7 separate regions of the Homo sapiens genome follow, and all the other regions are linked to region 3. Evidence: promoter capture Hi-C in human tissues and cell types (Jung and others, 2019). All regions are on one chromosome and are shown on one strand. Each heading gives the region's core, a stretch centred on a gene start or on the middle of the fragment in contact. The rest is flanking DNA. Distances are from core to core; before and after follow the strand shown. Region 1 overlaps LOC101929307 (a long non-coding RNA gene). Region 2 has its middle 45 kb from the start of LINC02199. Region 3 holds the start of SEMA5A (semaphorin 5A). Region 4 overlaps LINC02199 (long intergenic non-protein coding RNA 2199). Region 5 holds the start of CCT5 (chaperonin containing TCP1 subunit 5). Region 6 has its middle 100 kb from the start of ATPSCKMT. Region 7 holds the start of LINC02199 (long intergenic non-protein coding RNA 2199).

Region 1 (2,700 bases), core at 36-2,535, 780 kb after region 3:
AAACTTTGCTATAGGACTTTCCCTTAAAACTAGTGTTGGTGGGAGTGTAAATTAGTTCAACCATTGTGGAAGACAGTGTGGTGATTCCTCAAGGATCTAGAACCAGAAATACCATTTGACCCAGCAATCCCATTACTGGGTATATACTCAAAGACTTATAAATCAATCTACCATAAAGACACATGCACATGTATGTTTATTGCAGCACTGTTTACAATAGCAAAGACTTGGAACCAACCCAAATGACCATCAGTGATAGACTGGATTAAGAAAATGTGGCACATATATACCATGGAATACTGTGCAGCCATAAAAAAGAATGAGTTCATGTCCTTTGCAGGGACACGGATGAAGCTAGAAACCATCATTCTCAGCAAACTAACACAGGAACAGAAAATCAAACACCACGTGTTATTACTCATAAGTGGGAGTTGAACAATGAGAACACATGGACACAGGGAGGGGAAGATCACACACCGGGGCCTGTCAGGGGGTGGGCCACAAGGGAAGGGAGAGCATTAGGAGAAATACCTAATGCCTGCGGGACTTAAAACCTAGATGATGGGTTGAGCAAACCACCATGGCACACGTATACCTATGTAACAAACCTGCACATTCTGCACATATATCCCAGAATTTAAAGTTAAAAAAAAAAGCAGAGGTTTCTTAATTTAAGGTAATAAGACCAAAGAATAGATATTTTTCTAATTAACCTGAATTTTATATAAGATGAAGAGCAGGCACAGGCATGGAGGCTCATGCTTGTAAGCACATTGGGAGGACGAGGCGGGTATATTACCTGGGGCTGGGAGTTCTAGACCAGCCTGGCCAACATGGTAAAACCCCTTCTCTACTAAAAATATAAAAATTAGCCAGGCATGGTGGTGCATGCTTGTAATAGAAGCTACTTGGGAGGCTGAGACACCCGAATTGCTTGAACCTGGGAGGCAGAGGTTGCAGTGAGCTGAGATTGCGCCACTGCGCTCCAGCCGGGGTGACTGAGTGAGACCCTATCTCAATAAAACAAAACAAAACAAAGCAAAACAACAACAAAGGTGAAGAGCATATATTTATTTTAGTTTTTGTAATTTAATATATTTTAATCAATTGCTAATGACATTTTACATTAATTTAACCTTTGCATGTGCCAGACATGATGCATTAGATGTATGTCCTCATTTATCTAAGCTGTGCTAAGAGAGAAGAGATATTTTCATTCTTTGCACAGATGGTGAAGCTGAGACTATAGGAATGAAGAAGCTTGACTCAGGTCACACACATGAAAGTGGTGGAGCCAGGCCCAAACCAAGGTCTATCTGACTCTATGACTGTATTAGTCCACTCTCATGCCACTATGAAGAAATACCTGAGACTGGGTAATTCATAAAGCAAAGAGATTTAACTGACTCACAGTTCTGCAAGGCTGGGGGGCCTCAGGAAACTTACAATCATGGTGAAAGCACCTCTTCACAGGGTGTTAGGAGAGAGAATGAGTGCGAGCAGGGGAAATGCCATACATTTATAAATCCCTCAGATCTTGTGAGACTCACTCATTATCATGAGAACAGCATGAGGTAAACCACCCCTGGGCCCTTCCAAATCTCATGTCCTCACATTTCAAAACACAATTATGCCTTTCCAACACCAATCATGCCTTCGTAACAGTACCCCAGAGGCGTAACTCATTCCAGCATTAACTCAAAAGTCCAAGCCCAAAGTCTCATCTGAGACAAGGCAAGTCCTTTTCCCCTATGAGCCTGTTAAATCAAAAGCAAATTAATTATGTCCTAGATACAATGAGGATACAGGCATTGAATGGGTATATTTACCCATTCAAAATGGGAGAAATTGGTCAAAACAAAGGGACTACAGGCCCCATGCAAGTCCAAAATCCAAAAGGGCAGTCATTAATCCTTAAAGTTCCAAAATAATCTCATTTGACTTCGTGTCTCACATCCAGCTCACATTGATGCAAGAGGTGGGCTCCCAAGACCTTGAATAGCCCCACCCTTATGGCTTTGCAGATTACACCTACACTCCAGGCTGCATTTGCAGGCTGGCATTGAAGTGTCTTCAGCTTTTCCAGGTGCACAGTGCAAGCTGTCAGTGGATCTATGATTCTGGGATCTGGAGCATGATGGCTCTCTTCTCACAGCTCCACTAGGCAGTGCCCTAGTGAGGGCCCTGTGTGGAGGTTCTGACCCCACATCTCCCTTCCACACTGCCCTGGCAGAAGTTCTCCATGAGGGTCCCACCCCTGTAGCAAACATCCAGGCATTTCCATACATCCTCTGAAATCTAGGTGGAGGTTCCAACCTCAAATCTTTACTTCTGTGTACCCACAGGCCCAACACCATGTGTAAGCCACCAAGGCTTGGGGCTTGTACTTTTTGAAGCAATGACCTGAGCTGTACATTTTCCCCTTTTAGCCACAGCTTGGATGCAGGGCACCAAGTGCTGAGACTGCACAAAGCAGCAAGGCCCTGGGCCCAGCCCATGAAACAATTTTTACCTCCTATGCCTCTTTGCCTGTGATGGGAGGGTGTATTAATCTGTTCACATGCTCCTGATAATGACTTACCTAAGACTGGGTAATTTATACAGAAAAAGAGGTTTAATGGGCTCGTAGTTCTACGTGGCTGGAGAGGCTTCACAATCATGGTGGGAAGGAAAGGAGGAGCAAATCATGTCTTATGTGGA
Region 2 (2,700 bases), core at 177-2,676, 660 kb after region 3:
TTATTTATTTATTCTTAATAATTGCTCTAGGCTTTCCAATACACATATTTAGCTTACCCCAGGCTACTTCTAAATTATATTATAAATCCACAGGTAAAGGATGAGAATCATACAAAATTTACTTTCATTTTTCCCTTCCAACCTATATGCTAATGTTTTCATATATTTTATTTCTATATATGTCATAAACTTCAAAGTACAGTCCTATTATTTTTGCTTTACACAAATAGTTCTAAAAGTGCAGTCTGGGGTCTCCTGTGGTTCATAGGATCTTTTCAGGGTATCCATGAGGTGGAAACTATTTTCATAATTGTAAGACACTGCTTACACTTTCATTCTCATTCTCTCAAAGGCTACATGATATACGATATTGCAACAGACCAAATGCAAAAGCACATATTATGCTTTAGCTGCTCTTTATTAAGTCTGGAATTGAAGCGATTGGCAAAATATTTTTTAAATGCCATTCTCCTCACTAATTGTTTTTCTTCCTTGAAAAATATAGTTACTTTTCTTAAAAAGATATTATTTTTTGTTAATATAAAATGGGGTTATTATTACTAGTTTTAAACAAATAAATAAATATTTTCATTAATAGATATTATTAATAAATATGTCAGTTTTAATTTCTAATACAGAAAATATTAGTAGATGTAATCCACATCAACAAATTATCCAGGATCCTCAATAATTATCACAACTACAAAGGTATGATGAGACAAAAGTGTTTGAGAAATTCTTCTTTAAACTGTTAATTATATTTTAAATAGAAACCTAAAATACTTGTCTTATTTACATAGATATTTATCATTTCCAAGTCTGCACATTCCTTTATGTATATACAAATTTTAACGTACTATAATTTTCCTTCAACCTGAAGAAATTTCTCTATTATATCTTGTAGAGAAAGTTGGCTAAAAAAGATTGCATCTGATTTTGTTTGAACTAAATTATGTCTTTATTTTGCCTTCATAATATAAATTTAGCTAGATTTAACATTCTAGGTCATTCCCCCACCCCCCTACCCTGCCTGCCCATCACTTTGTAACATTCATTATTTATCCTTCCCTGCCCTCTTCTAGCTACAGAGAATTATTATTTGAGAAGGTCAAAGTAAATTTCATGTTAAGAAAAGAAGGTAGTTGGAATGAGAGGATGGATATTAACTTCATATTTAATACAACATGTGCATCTGCCCTTTTTACCAAGTCATGGTCTATAGGCAGAAGCTAGGGTATGTGAAGTCGAGTTGTATTATTAAGTTTATAATCTTCACATAACCTCAAATCTATAAAACCTTTGTTCAACAGTCCAGAGAAATTTAGATGAATTAAAACTCTTACTTTAGTCAATGGTACTGTGTGGTTTGAGAAAGAATCAGTTAGGTGACCTTTCTATTTTTTTCTTGATATTTATTCTGCTAAAGTGACATAAAAAAACTTTATTAGAAAATATAGAATGTCACATTATTATTAAATTGTTTACTTGGCATTTAGACACAGGTGTTTTCTTAGAAATTTTAAAGGGGATTGAGCTTTGCTCCTTTGATGCCGACAACTTTGACTCTATTTTAGCAATAGATGCAAACCCCAGAGCTTCCAGAATACAAAAATGTGAACCTACTTGCTGGAAGAGAACAAGGTAGAGAACCTACCTATTACCATCAAATACCAAACCATAATTATAAGAAAAATGTAGTAAAATCCAAACTTTAAAAATATATGAATGTTTAACAGAGTGTGTGCTATGTGTAGAAGTTCAAGGCTGCCCCCTTCAGAGAAAGCAATGCCTTGAAAGAAAGGTGGAAAATCAGCTTGAAGAGAAAAAAACCATTCTAATAGATCTCAGATGCATTTCAGCTCTATGTTGTAGGATTTCGTGTTCATAACTATTCTATTGGTGTTGATATTTCTAGGAAGGCTGTGGCATAAACCAATGCACAGTTACTCCCTGCGTCCTTAGCAAAGGGCAGATGTGATTTGCTGAGAGCACACACATCCAAGCCCTAAAAGCTTCTCACCAGCCAAGCACCCTACACTCTTCTCAACCACTTGCCTTCACTCCAAATGCCTCCTCCCTGCCTCTATCCAAATTTTACTCAGTATTTAGGGCCCTCCTTAATCGGCAGAATCTTCGTGAAACTGCCCCATAGAATGCTGATGGTATTAGTGCTCTTTCTCAGCAGTGCGAAATAATGCTGTTTTATATGCTTTAAGACTACGTTGGTTGGCTCTTTACTTGTCTGTGCCCCTCCTGAGCTGTGCAAAGGGGTTACTGTCAACACCACTAGCATGTGGTACAGATAGAGCATGGAGTTTACTGGGGACAAGCTTAGGATCAGAGAAGTAGGAGGCACACACACCCTTGAACTCTCAGTACCCAACATCATAGTCTTCATACCTATGGCCAACAAGCTGGTATACAGCGCCTTCATGTCTCTGATGCTCCGCATATGTATATGGCTTGGGAGCATGGAGCACTTGTGTAACTAGTACCAATGGATGCTCTCTGTTTAAAAATGGTTTTGTCAGGAAGAATTAGCAGTGGCTGGTATCAGCCTGTTCTATTGAATTAACTCTGACCTGCTGAGCCACTTACCTCAGGAACTCCTAGAAGAATAAAGAATCTAAACCCTCAGAGCCAACTAGATTTGTCCCCTTGGGAAAAAAAAGACCTTGGACTTGTTTATTTTTATAGCCC
Region 3 (2,700 bases), core at 74-2,573:
TGTTTTATGGATGAGCTCAATGGAACCCTTATGGACGCACCGGACCATGCCCAGGACCAGCGAGGCCCATCCATACCCCACCACTGGCTGGAAGGGCGCTGGTGTGAACGTGGGTCCTTGCGGGGGTCCCTACCTCACTGCGGTCAGGAGGGGGCAATTCACACATTTCCTCATGCAGGGGACCTTCAAGCCTCCCTCTGAGGCGCAGACTGAGTAAAAAGGGCCCAGAGATACTGTCCCGCACCCCCATCCAGTGGGAAAGGGCCACTCAAGGCCAGTCAGGACTCCCAACCCAAGTTTTATGCCTTATACTCCTATAACTTTACCATTTGCTCTTTTCGCGAGGCTGACCCCCTCCCTCTCCCCCCCCACCGCCTCCTCCAGAAACTGAAGAACTGCAACAAAGTGTCCAATTATACACGTCTTCAAAGGTACTTTACTTGCTTCCCAATTATCAACTTTTCACCTGAGTACTTAGTAAGGCCCAAGGATCCTGCAAAAGTGCAACAAGGAATAATTGACACAGAATTGGACGAATGACTTTGACCATACGGGACTTCTCTCTTAACGCTCAGCGTGGCTACCTGGGGACGCCTTCTCTGGCCTCCCTGATTCGTCAGATTTGTTCATTTCCTTGACTTAATCCCGCTGAAATCGACCCGAACTAGCCGGGAGTCTCACCCCCAAAGTGCTCCTCCAAGAACCCGCAACGACTGACTCTCTCGTCTTCTTTAAGGAGTTTCTCCCTCAGAACGGATGAGGATGTCACACAGAAAGAACAAAATCACAAAGTTCGAGTTCCGGAGGACCAGACGGCCCCTGCCCCCCATCCCCCGGGCCAGATTTAGCCGAGGGAACCGCACGTACCTGAAGCCGAGGCCGGCAGAGAGGGAGCGCCACGTCTCAGGTCTCGGCCGGCGCCCCCCTCCGGGGTGCAGCCACGTCTGAACCGGGACAGCGGGCGGGGGAGCCGCAGAGGGACCCAGTGAGACGGGGGAGGGAGCCCCCAAAAGTCAGCGCTCGGCCGCACTCGCACTGGGGAGGCTGGAATGGAACTCCTGGGGTGCAGCGGGGCTCCCAGGAGCGAAGGTGGGGGTCCTGTACCGGGAAGGGGCGGGGCCCGGGGAGGGGCTCGGGGAGGTCAGGCGCGGGTGGGGCGCTCGAGTTTCACCCCGGCGGGGAGGAGGAGGAGGAGGAGGCGGCGCGGCGGCGGGGGCGGGGCAGGGGCGGGGCGGGGCGGGGGTGGGCCCAGGCTGTCCCCCGCTCCCCGCCCAGCGCTCTCCGCCCCGCGCTCTCCGCGCCCGCTCGCCCCGCGCCGATCTACTTGCCGGGAAGGCGGCGCCGGTGGCGGCTGCTCTCCCTGAGCCCGCTCCCGAGCGCTGCTTTCCCGCCGCGGGTGGGCTTCGCAGCCTCAGGCCAGCCGCGGCCCTTGGCCCGCTGCAGCCCCGGCCCTCCACCTTCCCCGTGCAGGGGCGGCCCGGCCAGTGTCGCTCATCCCGGGACGCTCCCTTCTCCCACCCAGGACTGCCCCGCGGAGCTGGCTTGGACACCCAACTTTGCCACCTCGAGGGTCGTCTCTGCTGGGCGCGAACCTGCCCACCCACCGGTTGGCCGCGCGCTCGGGGACCGTGCTCGTGGCCCCCAAGCCGGTGCCCCCATTCTGGAACTCAGCGAGTAGGGGGCGGCTCTGGGGAAGTGGCAGGGGGCGGCTGCAGCTGCTGCCTCCACTTCCCTAGCCAGGTGCTGAAGAGGATCCTCGGAGCCGCTCTGGCCCCCAGGCGCTGGATGACTGGCACCAGCGCTCCTCGCACCTGGTGAGCGACCCCCGCCCGATTCCTGCGTGGCCTTGGCAGGAGCCCCTGACCGCGCCGCGCCGCGCCGCGCCGCTGGCCGGGACCCGGGGACTGCAGCGGTCGGCTGGTGGGTGGTGCCGATCTCGGGTGGGATCCATCAGCAGGCACCTGGGCGGGGGTTGCGCGTACAGGATTAGGACGACCGTCAGTCCGGGGGCGCCCACAGTTGAGCTAGTGCACGGGCTGGAAGTTTGTGTACCCGCCTGTGCCGAGGTCTGAGCATGGAGAGGTAAGGAGCCGGAGTGTCGCGGTGGGCGAGACGGGACCCCTGCCCAACACCCGGAAAGGTGCGCACACTGGTCTGTGCCCGCCCCCGGCGCGCCTCCAGGCTCGCACTGCCGCGAGCCGGGGGCAGGGGACACGGAGGTCGGGACTTGGCGGTTCGGGAGCGGCCACCTCGCAGCCCCACCGGCTTGGGCAGGTTTTCCTGCTTTCCTTACAGGGGAACCGGGAGGCAATGGGACTTGGGCTCAACTCCGCCAAGCGCCTTGGTTAATGAAAGACACTAAGGCGGGGGATGCAGAGGCCTGGGGAACCACCAGCCAGGTGCGCTGCAGCTAGGCGAGCCCCTTTCACCAGGCATCCCTCCGCTGCTCCACGGATTTTGCACACCGCGGCTCAGGGTTTCAGACCCCAGGGTTTCGGGCAGATCGGGCTCCAGAGGGAATGGTTTCTCCCAAGATGTGCGTGGGAACGGTCGTGGAGGAGTGATTCCCCCGGCTCGCTCCCCGCGGCGGCCGGTGCCTGGCTTGGAGCGGTCACATCCCTGTTCCCCTGGCTTTGGCGGGAAGCGCGTTCACCTCCTCGCCCTTTGCTTGCTTTGTACCAGGATGCCGCGGCCGGAGTT
Region 4 (2,700 bases), core at 173-2,672, 680 kb after region 3:
TACACACATTTATAATGAAGAATAAATTAGAAGTCAAGTAAAATGTTTATGTAAAATAATTTTATTACAGTACTATTAACAGATTAAAGATAAAAATAATTATATATTCTTCATTAGGAAAATGTTGAAATAAATTATGCTATAACAGCCCCAAAATTGCCCCTTAAGAGATTTACATGAATAGAAAGACTCTTGCAGAGGAAGATTCATAATCTAAATTTATTTATTATTTTGAATTATTCTATATGCTTAATAGCCCAATCCATCTAGTAAAAAATATTTAAACCTGATGAGATAGTCTAAAATTTTAGTGAATAAATACATATCTGACCTATAGTATCTGTCAGATAAACTAATTTTTGCTCTAGCAACAAGTGACACTCACATCTCAGTAATTAAAACAGCAAATATTTTACTCTACATTCAGGCCATTCCATAATCTGCTTTGTGTCATTTGCATGCCAAACCCACACCGGTGAGACTCCAACTGTCTGGAACATAGGTGAACAGGAAGGCAGAGAAAAAAGAGAACACGATGAAGAATCTGCTGGCTCAGACAGCAGCGCCTGGAAGAGTCATGTGCCACTTTCACTCACATTTTATGACTGAAGCACGTCATATGGCCACGTATAAATTCAGGAAATTGGGGAAGTACAATTCCACTAAGGAAGGACAGTGAAAACAGCTGGAGAATTTTACTCTGTCAAATGAGAAATAGTGAAACTAATCCTCCATTAAAATATATACAAATTTATATTATTTAAAGCAGGAATTAAAATCTTAGAAATTTGTGCCTGCATATTGTCCCCTAACCACACCTATATTTATATAGGGAATTTATAATAATTAAGCCATTTAAGTAAGTGATAAAGATATGTACTTTGAAACATATACTGATGGGGGAAATAGCCAGCCATTAAAATATGATGTAGCCAGATTCATAATTTAGATATATCCAAAATTTAATATAAAAACAAATTATTAGAAGAAAATAGGTGAACATTCTTATATGTTATAGGTGGTAAAGGTCTTATAGTCAGGGCATACGTTTTGGAAGCTATGAAGATTTATAATACAGTATTGCTAACTATACTCTCATTGCTGGGCGTTAGATTTCCAGAGTGTTTACAACCTGCATAACTGAAACTTTATACCCTTTGACAAATATCCCTCCATTGCCACCTCCTCTCAGCTTTTCTCTCTGTTTCTGTGACTTCAAAGTTTTAGATTCCACATATAAGTGAGATCATGCAGTATTTGTCTTCCTCTACCTGGCTGATTTTGCTTAGCATAATGTTCTCTGGGCCCATGTATGTTGTTGCAAATGGCAGGATTTCCTTCGTTTTAGTGGCTGAATAATATTCAATTTTTTGTGTGTATGTATGTATGTATATGTACAAACTACACAAAAATAATATAAATATTTCATTACATTAATATATATTACTTTTTTATTCATTTATTCATCAATGGACATGTAGTTTGTTTATATATCTTGGCTACTGTGAATATTGCTGTAATACACATGGAAGTGCAGATATTGCTTTGACATATTGATTTAAATTCCTTTGTGTATATGCTCAGAAGTGAGATTTCTGGATCATAAAGTAGTTCTAATTTTAATTTTTTGAGGAACCTCTACACTATCTTCTTTCTTGCTTTTTTTGAGACGGAGTCTCACTCTGTTGCCTAGGCTGGAGTACAGTGGCATGATCTTGGCTCAGCCTCCCAGATTTAAGTGATTATCCTGCCTCAACCTCCTGAGTAGCTGGGATTACAGGCATGCACCACCATGCCCTGCTAATTTTCGTATTTTTAGTAGAGACTGGGTTTTGTCATGTTGGCCAAGCTTCTGTCACCTAGGCTAGAGTGCAGTGGTGCGATCACATCTCACTGCAACCTCTGCCCCCCGGGTTCAAGCAATTCTTGTGGTTCAGCCTCCTGAGTAGCTGAGACTACCATGGCACCATGCCCAGCTAATTTTTTTGTATTTTTCATAGAAATATGGTAGAGATGGGGTCTTGCTATGTTAGCCAGGCTGATCTCAAATACCTGGCCTCAAGTGATCCATCCACCTTGGCCTCCCAAAGTGTTGGGATTACAGGTGTGAGCCACCGTGCCTGGCCTCTATACTATTTTCTATAATGGTTGTACCACTTTACATTCCCATCAATAATGTAAAAGATTCCCTTTTCTCTACAATGTGCCAACATGTATCTTTCATCTTTTTTATAATAGTCATTCTCACTAGTGTGAGATAATCTCATTGTACTTTTAATTTTACATTTTCCTGATGATAGTAATGTTGAACATTTTTCATATAGCTCTTATCCATTTGTGTGTCTTCCTTGAGAAATGTTTATTTAAATAATTTGCATTTTTAGTTAGTTTTTTAGTGTGTGTTTTGTTGTTTGCTATTGGATTGTATGAGTTTCTTATACATTTTAGACATTAACTATTTATAAGATTCACGGTTTGCAAATATATTTTCCTATTCAGTACATTGTCTCTTCAGGCTGTTGACTCTTTGGGCTGTTGATTCTCTATGCAGAAGCTATTGACTTTGATGAAATCCCATTTGCCTGTTTTTGCTTTTGTTGTCTGTGCTTTTGTTGTCATAGTCAAAATATCATTGCCCAGACCAATGTAAAAAATATTTTCCCGTGTTTTTTTCTAGTAGTTTTACAGTTTTAGGTATTA
Region 5 (2,700 bases), core at 201-2,700, 700 kb before region 3:
CTACCGTGGATCAACCACTGTGCAGCCCCTCTAAGTCACTCCATTTAATATCACTGTCAAGTCTTCAGCTTGACGGAGGCCTATCACCTCCCCCTGGAAAAGGAGGTTCCGCGAGGTTGTGTAACTAGCACTAAGTCAAACAAAGAGTCCATAGGGGAACTGTATTGTTTCTAACTTTGCGTAAGTAAACCTCCAAGACACTAAGTGAACAGGGACACCTGAGAGACCTAGTGGAATGGTCTATTATGAATTCACTTTATAACAAACCCTGAAGGCCCTCTCGGAGTGTCCCTTCCTCTGCATTTTCTGTCAACGTCTGGTGCTCAGATGTTTCTTACCTGCACCCCTGCCCTGGTTTCTTTAACCCCTCTGGTCTTCCTTATTCCCTTCGGTCTATCTCAAGCTTTGCTGCCTGAAGTGCAGCTCTACTGAAATTCTGCTCAAAACCCCCTCAATGGCTCCCCTTCTTCCCCAAAGATAACGTCGTATTTTCCATGTTGGGCATTCAATAGCTTCCACCTTCGGGAACTATTGTAAGTTAAAGAAGTCAGTGCTCCATTAAAACCGGATGGCTCTTCCATTCTACAACGTGCCATGCGCATTCTTGCCCAAGCCTTTACTTCTACCGTTTCCTCTCCCTAGAATGCTACCTCTCACCCCGATCTAAAGCTGTCCTCCAGCACCACGCTTATGTGCACCCTCTCCGTAGCTGTCCTTCTCACTGCACACCACCTTGTATTACGGTTATGTGCGTCCGTTTTTCACTCTTCGCTATTTTTCCTCAAGGGTGGGCAAAAAAGCACTCAGAAATGAAATACCCTGTTAAGTGACCACACCTTTACGAGTGACAAAGAAAACGGAAGGGCCGTTGCGGGTGGACCAGCGAAAGGTTAAGCAGCAGCGCCTTAACCGACAGGTGACAGAGCATCTCCCCGGCGCCCTCCCACTGGAGCGCAGTCCCACGCGGCCGTCAGGCTGGAGGAGCCGGGCGGGGAGGCGGTCCCGCTTTGCTCCCGCGGGCGACCGGACTGAGCGGCCCCACCCAGCTCCGAAGGGCGCTGGCGGCCCAGCCTGGCTGGCCCCCACATTCCGAGCCCAGGATTAGGCGCCGGCGTCTCCCGAGCTCAGTAAGCGGGCTGAGCGGCCGGAGACCGCAGGGAGACGGAGATTCTCGACCTTTCCGGGGAGCACATGGCAGAGCCGCTCCTCAACTCGCGCAGGCGCAGAGCCACGGCCTCGGCCACCTCCCCTTAGCCCACCGCGAGCAGGTCCCTGTGCCATTACCTTGAGGGCCTCAAGTCCCATAAGACGGGACTTGCGGTCCTGATCCTTGATGATGAGGAAAGGGCGCCCATATTCATCGAAGGCGAGGGTCCCCATGGACGCCATGGTGCAACAACCGGAATTACTTCCCCCCAACCGGCGGAGACCGCTACGGAAGCGAGAATGCACTTCCCTTTCTCGGGAGGGCCCAAAAGCTTGCGCACGCGCAGCACAAGACGCGCGGGACTTATGTTTCTACTGAGACTAATTTCACGCCAGACAGTATCTTCTGGAATCGGCGGCCTTCGGGAACTTCTATTATCCAGGAAGCCGGGGAGGGGGAGGTTTGAAGACACTTAGTGGAAATCTTAGGACACACAAGTCAAGAGCAGATTGAATTTGTCATTTTTTAAAACGTTACCACTGATAGTTTCTCGATAGTGGGTCCCAAGGAGGAATTCATTGACTTAAAGCACTATTTCTTTATTTCTTCGCACTCCGGCTCCGAGAAGATGGTAGGACCCATTTCCGGTTTTTTTTTTTTTTTTTTTTTTTTTTTTTTTTTTTTTAAAAACGCTGTTGGAAATCTCGCGATGGAGGGAGGAGGAGGTGAGGCTGGAGCGGCTTGGCGGGTTCCTGGGGGCATGAGAAGGGGTGCGGGCGGGCCGGGGGCTCGCGGTCAGCTGAGGTCTCCACTGTCGAGGCGGTGACCGGGTGCGGGCGGCTGCTCTGGCCTCCAGCCTGGCCTTCGGTGACCAGAGCTCCTGGTCGCCGCGCGGTGCCCGCGCCGGTTCTGGCGATCCTTGTCGGCGGGCGCGTTTCCCCAGAGACTGTTCTAGGCTACTTAGTGCAAGTGACTCAGCCTTTGGCACGATCTTAAGGAATAGGGATAGTGGAGGCACACTGATGGATTGGAATCGCAGTTCTGCCGCTCTTCCTAGCTGTGGCTTTGAGGAAATCCCTTAACTTCTTTGTCCCTCGGGTTCCCTGTCTGCAAAGTGACGGTGGTAACAGTAGTGCCTACTCACAGGGCTGCTGTGAGATTCAAGGAGAACGGTGCCTGGCAAGCTGAACACAGTGTTGGTAAATAAATTAACATTTTGCACAAATGGTTCAGTAACTTGCCACTGGTATACAGCTAGTAAGAAACAGTTACACAGCCTGATGCAATGGGTCCCACACTCTTTTTTTTTTTTTTTTTTTTTGAGACAAGACTGTAGCCCGGGCTGGAGTGCAGTGGCGCGGTCTCGGCTCACTGCAGCCTCCGCCTCCCGGGTTCCAGTGATTCTCGTGCCTCAGCCTCCCAGGCAGCTGGGACTACAGGCACAGAACCACCACGCTCGCTAATTTTTGTATTTTTAGTAGAGACGGTGTTAACGCCGTAGTGGCCAGGCTGGTCTCGAACGGCTGACCTCAAGTGATGTACCCGTCTAGGTC
Region 6 (2,700 bases), core at 69-2,568, 600 kb before region 3:
TTGAAAAATGATTATTAGTTTATAATCATCTGAGTACTTTCTTTATTACTAAATATTATTTAAAATTAAAACTGAAATCATATAGATTCACAAAGAGATTTCCTTGGTATCTTTATTATATATGAAGAAAGAATTAAATACTTGATGTCAATATTTTGCTGAAAAATGCAACTTTTCTTCCTGATTATACATCCAGAACACCTTTTCTTTAAACTACTCTGGGAACCAGTGTAGTTGTCCCTGTTCCTCTGACTTTTCTCCTGAATTCCAGACTCATTTCCATTTGCCCTTTAGGTGCCCATCTTCTTAAATATTTTATTTTAATTATTTTTATGTTTTTTTTTTTTTGAGACAGGGTCTTACTCTGTTTCCCAGGCTGGAATTGAGGGTACAATCACAGCCCACTCCAGCCTCAACCTCCTGGGCTCAAGTGATCCTCCCATCTCAGCCTCTAGAGTAGCTAGAACTAGAAGGGCACACCACCACCCCCGACCATTAAAAAAAAAATGTTTAGTAGAGACAAGGTTTTGCCATGTTGTCCAGGCTGGCCTCAAACTCCTGGGCTCAAGTGATCCTCCCACCTTGGCCTCCCAAAGTGTTGGGATTAAGGTGTGAGCCACTGTGCCTGGCCTTGGTGCCTATCTTGTTGGTGCATCTTCAGTTGAGCTCATCCCATCCCACCCCATCTGATAAGGCAAATCTCAGGTCCTCCGCCTCCACTCTGACAGGTGCCAGCACCTCCTCTCTTCACCTGTGACCTCGTTCTTCTCCCTTTTCTGGGAAGGCCCAGTTCCGCTGAGGCCCATACATAACCTGCGACGCTTTCTTCTGGGCCAGCCCTTTGCCAACAGCACGAGATGTTTTTTGGCTTAGCCTGTTGGCACTCCATGCTGACTTGAACTCAGGCTTCCCCTTCCAGGGTCTCAGCTGCGGCTTCCTTGGACACGACCACTACCCGATTGTTGAGCCCTCCTCTCCTCTTTCCCTGGGACCCTCACAAATTCTACACCCACAGTCTCTTCTGCCTCGGTGTGGCCTGTGGGCTTCTCCCTATGGATATGCAAACGTAACGTCCAAAGTCAAATTAATTCTGATCTCCTAAACAGTTTTTCCTTTTATATTCCTGAGTTTTTAAAGACTGGCATCAGCTTCTGTCTGTTTCCTTGGGGTGGAAATTTTGTGCCGTTATTTCACCTTCTTCTTGCTGTTTATATCCATCTGGACACCAAGCCCGGGGTATAGCCCCTGCTTACAGACCACTTGAAGCCAGCTGCTTACCTCTTCTCCTGCAGTTGCTTCATTCAGAACCGGGGTTTTGTGCCTAAGTGCAGGGAGAGACTTTCGGCTGCTCTCCCGGCCTCCACTACCCACCTTTCTACCCCGTCACAGTCGTCCTCCACACTGCTATCATCTCTTCCGCTTACTCGAAGCAACAACAACAGCAGCAATAACAACCAGCCAGACCAGTAAAACCTCTTGGTGGCCCCCAGGTGCCTGTAGTATGAACTCTTAAGCTTAGTAGTAAAGGACACTCAGCGTCCGGCCTTAACTTTCCAGCCCCGCCCCTGTTTTACCATCTGGCCACACCACCCGCTTATCACGCCCCTGTTTCCTGAGGACATTGTGCATTGGTGCATTTGCTTTGTTTTAAAATGTACCTGTGTTCGTTTATATCTGCTGGAAATGCCATTTCTTGCCCCCCATCCCATGGTTTGCTTGTTGAACTCATGTTCACGAAGGCTCAGTTCAGGTGGGCGGCAGCAGGTGTTCCCCGTTCTGTGTTTTCATGGTGACTGGTACGCATCAATATTCACATTGTACTTACTTGTTTTCGCGTCGGCCTAAGCACATTCTGAGCTGCTGGAGGGTAGGACCTGTGCACGACTCTACCTGGGCATGGCCCAGAGCAGTCGTTTGTAAACGTGTGAGCAAGGAGAAGGGGAAGGAAGGAAAGAACAGTGTCAAAGCTTGAGAAATGGAATGGGTGCCAGTATACCATGGGTGGGAACATTAAGAAACTTAAAGGATAACCACAATCAATGAGCTGCAGTAGCTCAGAACTTTGTGATCGACTTTTATGAGCCATAGAACTTGGCCCTGTTGCCAACAGTTTTTAGAAATACCACAGCCCTAATGCTTAAGCACATTGCTGTAATTCGACTCTCCATAAAGTGATCTTTAAATTGTGTTTTGAGGCTGGGAAGTGCACATCAGTGACACGCTTAACTGTATAGCTGCAGCCAAACTGGAATCTAGACCTATTTGTGTGCAAATACGATGCTTCAAGTTCATTACTGTTATTAGGAAATGGAAATACAGCCAGAGCAGAAATAACAGTCTATTTCCCTCTGCCTGTGCTGTGTTTTCATCAATGAGGCTTCTGAAGGACTATATGCATTTACTAACCCATTAGAATGAGCGATTTTATATCCTAATGTAAAATTAAAGGAATTTAAGGATCTGCCTAGGAGATACACTTGTTTAAACCTATATTAATGTTTCTATTGGTTATGTCGACTCTAACTAGTAACACGTTATTGGAAAGGGAAATGCCCCGGCTGTGTGTGTATTTTCTGAATCTCAATGCTATATTTTTCTGACAAGGTGTGGAGCTGAATTTCTTCTCTTCTATCCAAAATATGAGACGCCGGGTCAATTATAACTATTTTTAAATGTGAAACATATGATCAATTCTTATTT
Region 7 (2,700 bases), core at 128-2,627, 710 kb after region 3:
CCAGCAGGCGCCGGCCGGCCACGCCGAGTGCGGGGCTTGCAGAGCCGGAGCTCACCTGGAACCCAAGCGCTGGGCCGCGAGCGCCGCGCGCAGCGCCGGCTCCAGCCAGTGCCTTTCTCTTCACACCTCCCCGCCAGCAGAGGGAGCAGGCTCCGGCCTCCGCCAGCCCCAGAGAGAGGCCCTCATAGCGCAGCGGCGGGCTGAAGAGCTCCTTGAGCGCGGCCAGAGCGGACGCCGAGGCCGAGGACGCGCCCAGAGCCAGCAAGGGATGCTACCACGCTGTCACCTCTCACCGTGAGCCACAACTGCTGGTCCTGCGTTCACGGCTTTCCTTTGTCTTTCAGGTGGAGACGCGCTGACCTGCCCCAATACCTATTGTTGTTTGTTAAATTACTCCAAGATACTTATAGTTAACGGCAAACACCCATTTATAACCACAAATCATGTCAGATGTTCAGGACCAGCACAATCAATCAAGTAAACAGCACCCTCCTTGAGTATGTGGCAGGTGTGTGAGGATTTCATGAACCTGTCCTGCATTTCCAAATCCATCCTGAGGCCTCTCCCTGGACACAGGTCTGTGGATCAGCCTGTACTCGGGCAGTTTTACCTTCTATGTCTGTTTGTCACGGTCCTCTTGTCCTAGTGCTCATCACTGCACGTTCCCAGCTCCAGCAAGTGGCCACTCTTTTCCCTCCACAACCAAAGGCCCGACGGCCCAGCCCCCCGGTGGCAGGTGGCCCTTCCATGGCTGAGGTCACACACCCAGCATCGCATCCTGCCCTTCTCGGGGCCTCGGGCCCCTTCGACTCGTCTCCAGGGATTGCACTTGCTCCTGCTGCCCACGGAGGTTTCCTTCCTGTGATTCCACTCGGAGGGGGCGCTTTTCTTTGCTGGCTTCAACCATCACAGAGCTGCTTTGTGTTCGCCGGCAGCTGCCACGCTTCCCTGAAAAGGCGGCTTCTGTTCTGCTGGAGATGAGCTGATTTGCCTGGCAGCCAACTTAAACAAGGAGGTACTTTGAGACCATTTTTTTGGAATCTTTGTCTTTTTCTCTCGACATTCAGCTTCGTAGTTGTAAAACTCTAAATACTCGTGGGGTTTAACACAAGGCTCGGGGGTTTTGAGGATTCCAAAGTGATTCCTGTATACAGTTATGACCACAGAACAAATTCACAGGGGAGAACAGACCATTCATTGTGACATTTGACACCGGACAGCAGATGATACAGTGTCCCCCTTATCTGTAAAGAAGGCAAAGTTTTGTTTCTGGTTTCCGAATCCAGAAATTAATAGTTCACTTAATTGCTAGGAATCTTCAAGGGTATGGTAGGCTCTGAGCATTGACCTGGCCCCTTATTTCCTGGCAATAAGTAACAGTTCCTGAAATTCTTTTTCTGCTATTAAATGTAACCTGCGACTTGAAGAAGCATTTTAGTTATTTACTCTCTCTGTGAACAAAAAATAACAATGCAGGCTGGGCAAAGTGGCTCACACCTGTAATCTTCACACTTTGGGAGGCCGAGGTGGGTGGATCACCTGAGGTCAGGAGTTCAAGACCAGCCTGGCCAACGTGGTAAAACCCCATCTCTACTAAAAATAGAACAAATTAGCTGGGCGTAGTGACAGGCACCTGTAATCCCAGCTACTCAGGATGATGAGACAGGAGAATTGCTTAAACCTGGGAGGCAGAGGTTGCAGTGAGTTGGGATCGCACCACTGCACACTAGCCTGGGCAACAAGAATGAAACTCCATCTCAAATAATAATAACAACGCTCAGTGCTCATCTTGTTTCTTGCTTTCTCCCAAAATGTTAGTAGTTAAATGTAAAAAATGAATTCCCTCTTTAGTTAAACTAGCTTCCTGTGTGGTGTCCACTCGATGACATACCATAGCAGGGATCCCTTGTGTAACAAACATCCCTCTTCAAAATAATGAGGACTTTCTTTAGTCCCCAGACAGCCTTTAGTGACACATTTTCTTGTCTCCACTGCCCTCTAGTACGTGAATATAACCTCTCAGTAGCTACGCTCCCAGGTGGCACCAATGAACCATGCCTCCTGGTAGTCCTCTCCACGCTAAGTTGGGCCAGCCCTCTGTAACCAAGAGAATGTGGTGGTGGTGATGCTGTGTGACTTCTGTGACTAAGTTATAGGAAGCTTCTGTGACCCTGTGAAACATTTGCTGTGATTTTTTTAGATCACCCCCTCTGTAAAAATCCAGGTGCCAAATAAGAAGCCTAACTACCTGGAGAGCACCATGGTTTGAGGAATCCCAAATTGGCCACATGGAGAAGGTGCCTTCCTGATCTACCCCAGCTTTTCCAGACCTCTCAGTCTGGATGTCAGGTACATGGGTGAAGAGGCCTTGAGATGTTTCCAGCCTCGGCCCCAGTCTACCTGTAACTGATGGAGGAACCCAAGAGGGAAATGTCCAACTGAACTATAAACTTCCAGAACTGTGAAAGGCAATCACAAATTGTTGTTTTAATCCTTTTAGTTTTCAGATGGTATACAGCAATAAACAGAACAGCACTTCATAATTGACCAAATGGGAGAATGTGTGTTTGAGAATTAACAAAACCATTTTGAATTGTAACTAATGAGAATACTTTTTTCACCCACACAACCCCCATCCTTTCAGCAAATACCCTTTATTTAAATTCTTAGTTTTGGGAAATATGTATTTTGGAAAATATG

Evidence for each region. Contacts are between HindIII fragments. The study calls those that stand out against the background at their distance.
Region 1: a contact is called between a fragment that was not itself captured here and the fragment with the promoter of SEMA5A in region 3, in 2 of the 25 tissues and cell types used here (dorsolateral prefrontal cortex and lymphoblastoid cells).
Region 2: a fragment that was not itself captured here is called in contact with the fragment with the promoter of SEMA5A in region 3 in 2 of the 25 tissues and cell types used here (lymphoblastoid cells and mesenchymal stem cells).
Region 4: a fragment that was not itself captured here is called in contact with the fragment with the promoter of SEMA5A in region 3 in 1 of the 25 tissues and cell types used here (dorsolateral prefrontal cortex).
Region 5: a contact is called between the fragment with the promoter of CCT5 here and the fragment with the promoter of SEMA5A in region 3, in 3 of the 25 tissues and cell types used here (bladder, heart right ventricle and hippocampus).
Region 6: a fragment that was not itself captured here is called in contact with the fragment with the promoter of SEMA5A in region 3 in 1 of the 25 tissues and cell types used here (dorsolateral prefrontal cortex).
Region 7: a contact is called between a fragment that was not itself captured here and the fragment with the promoter of SEMA5A in region 3, in 1 of the 25 tissues and cell types used here (dorsolateral prefrontal cortex).

The regions. Positions count from the first base shown.
Region 1 is chr5:8,761,461-8,764,160 of GRCh38, reverse strand. The region is part of intron 2 of LOC101929307 (a long non-coding RNA gene); the gene reads left to right. Among named protein-coding and RNA genes, the nearest start is that of LINC02199, 77 kb to the left of the region's middle. The HindIII fragment of the contact is 5,311 bases long and covers 1-2,700 here.
Region 2 is chr5:8,883,289-8,885,988 of GRCh38, reverse strand. No RefSeq gene overlaps it. Among named protein-coding and RNA genes, the nearest start is that of LINC02199, 45 kb to the right of the region's middle. The HindIII fragment of the contact is 3,399 bases long and covers 1-2,700 here.
Region 3 is chr5:9,544,698-9,547,397 of GRCh38, reverse strand. It overlaps SEMA5A (semaphorin 5A), which reads left to right and starts at 1,323. Exons shown (of 23, transcript NM_003966.3): 1 at 1,323-1,814. SNHG18 (small nucleolar RNA host gene 18) reads right to left here and starts at 1,198. Exons shown (of 3, transcript NR_045196.2): 1 at 868-1,198. RefSeq lists a silencer at 1,200-1,389. The HindIII fragment of the contact is 8,719 bases long and covers 1-2,700 here.
Region 4 is chr5:8,859,829-8,862,528 of GRCh38, reverse strand. All of the region lies in intron 1 of LINC02199 (long intergenic non-protein coding RNA 2199), which reads right to left. Among named protein-coding and RNA genes, the nearest start is that of LINC02199, 21 kb to the right of the region's middle. The HindIII fragment of the contact is 4,266 bases long and covers 1-2,700 here.
Region 5 is chr5:10,249,030-10,251,729 of GRCh38, reverse strand. CCT5 (chaperonin containing TCP1 subunit 5) reads right to left here and starts at 1,450. Exons shown (of 11, transcript NM_012073.5): 1 at 1,285-1,450. The coding sequence starts at 1,389. ATPSCKMT (ATP synthase c subunit lysine N-methyltransferase) reads left to right here and starts at 1,842. Exons shown (of 5, transcript NM_199133.4): 1 at 1,842-1,872. The coding sequence starts at 1,857. RefSeq lists silencers at 300-522, 853-992, 1,063-1,132, 1,883-1,942, 1,953-2,072. The HindIII fragment of the contact is 7,315 bases long and covers 942-2,700 here.
Region 6 is chr5:10,148,938-10,151,637 of GRCh38, reverse strand. No RefSeq gene overlaps it. Among named protein-coding and RNA genes, the nearest start is that of ATPSCKMT, 100 kb to the left of the region's middle. The HindIII fragment of the contact is 3,891 bases long and covers 1-2,700 here.
Region 7 is chr5:8,837,869-8,840,568 of GRCh38, reverse strand. LINC02199 (long intergenic non-protein coding RNA 2199) reads right to left here and starts at 837. Exons shown (of 3, transcript NR_109932.1): 1 at 611-837. The region is part of intron 1 of LOC101929307 (a long non-coding RNA gene); the gene reads left to right. The HindIII fragment of the contact is 4,416 bases long and covers 1-2,700 here.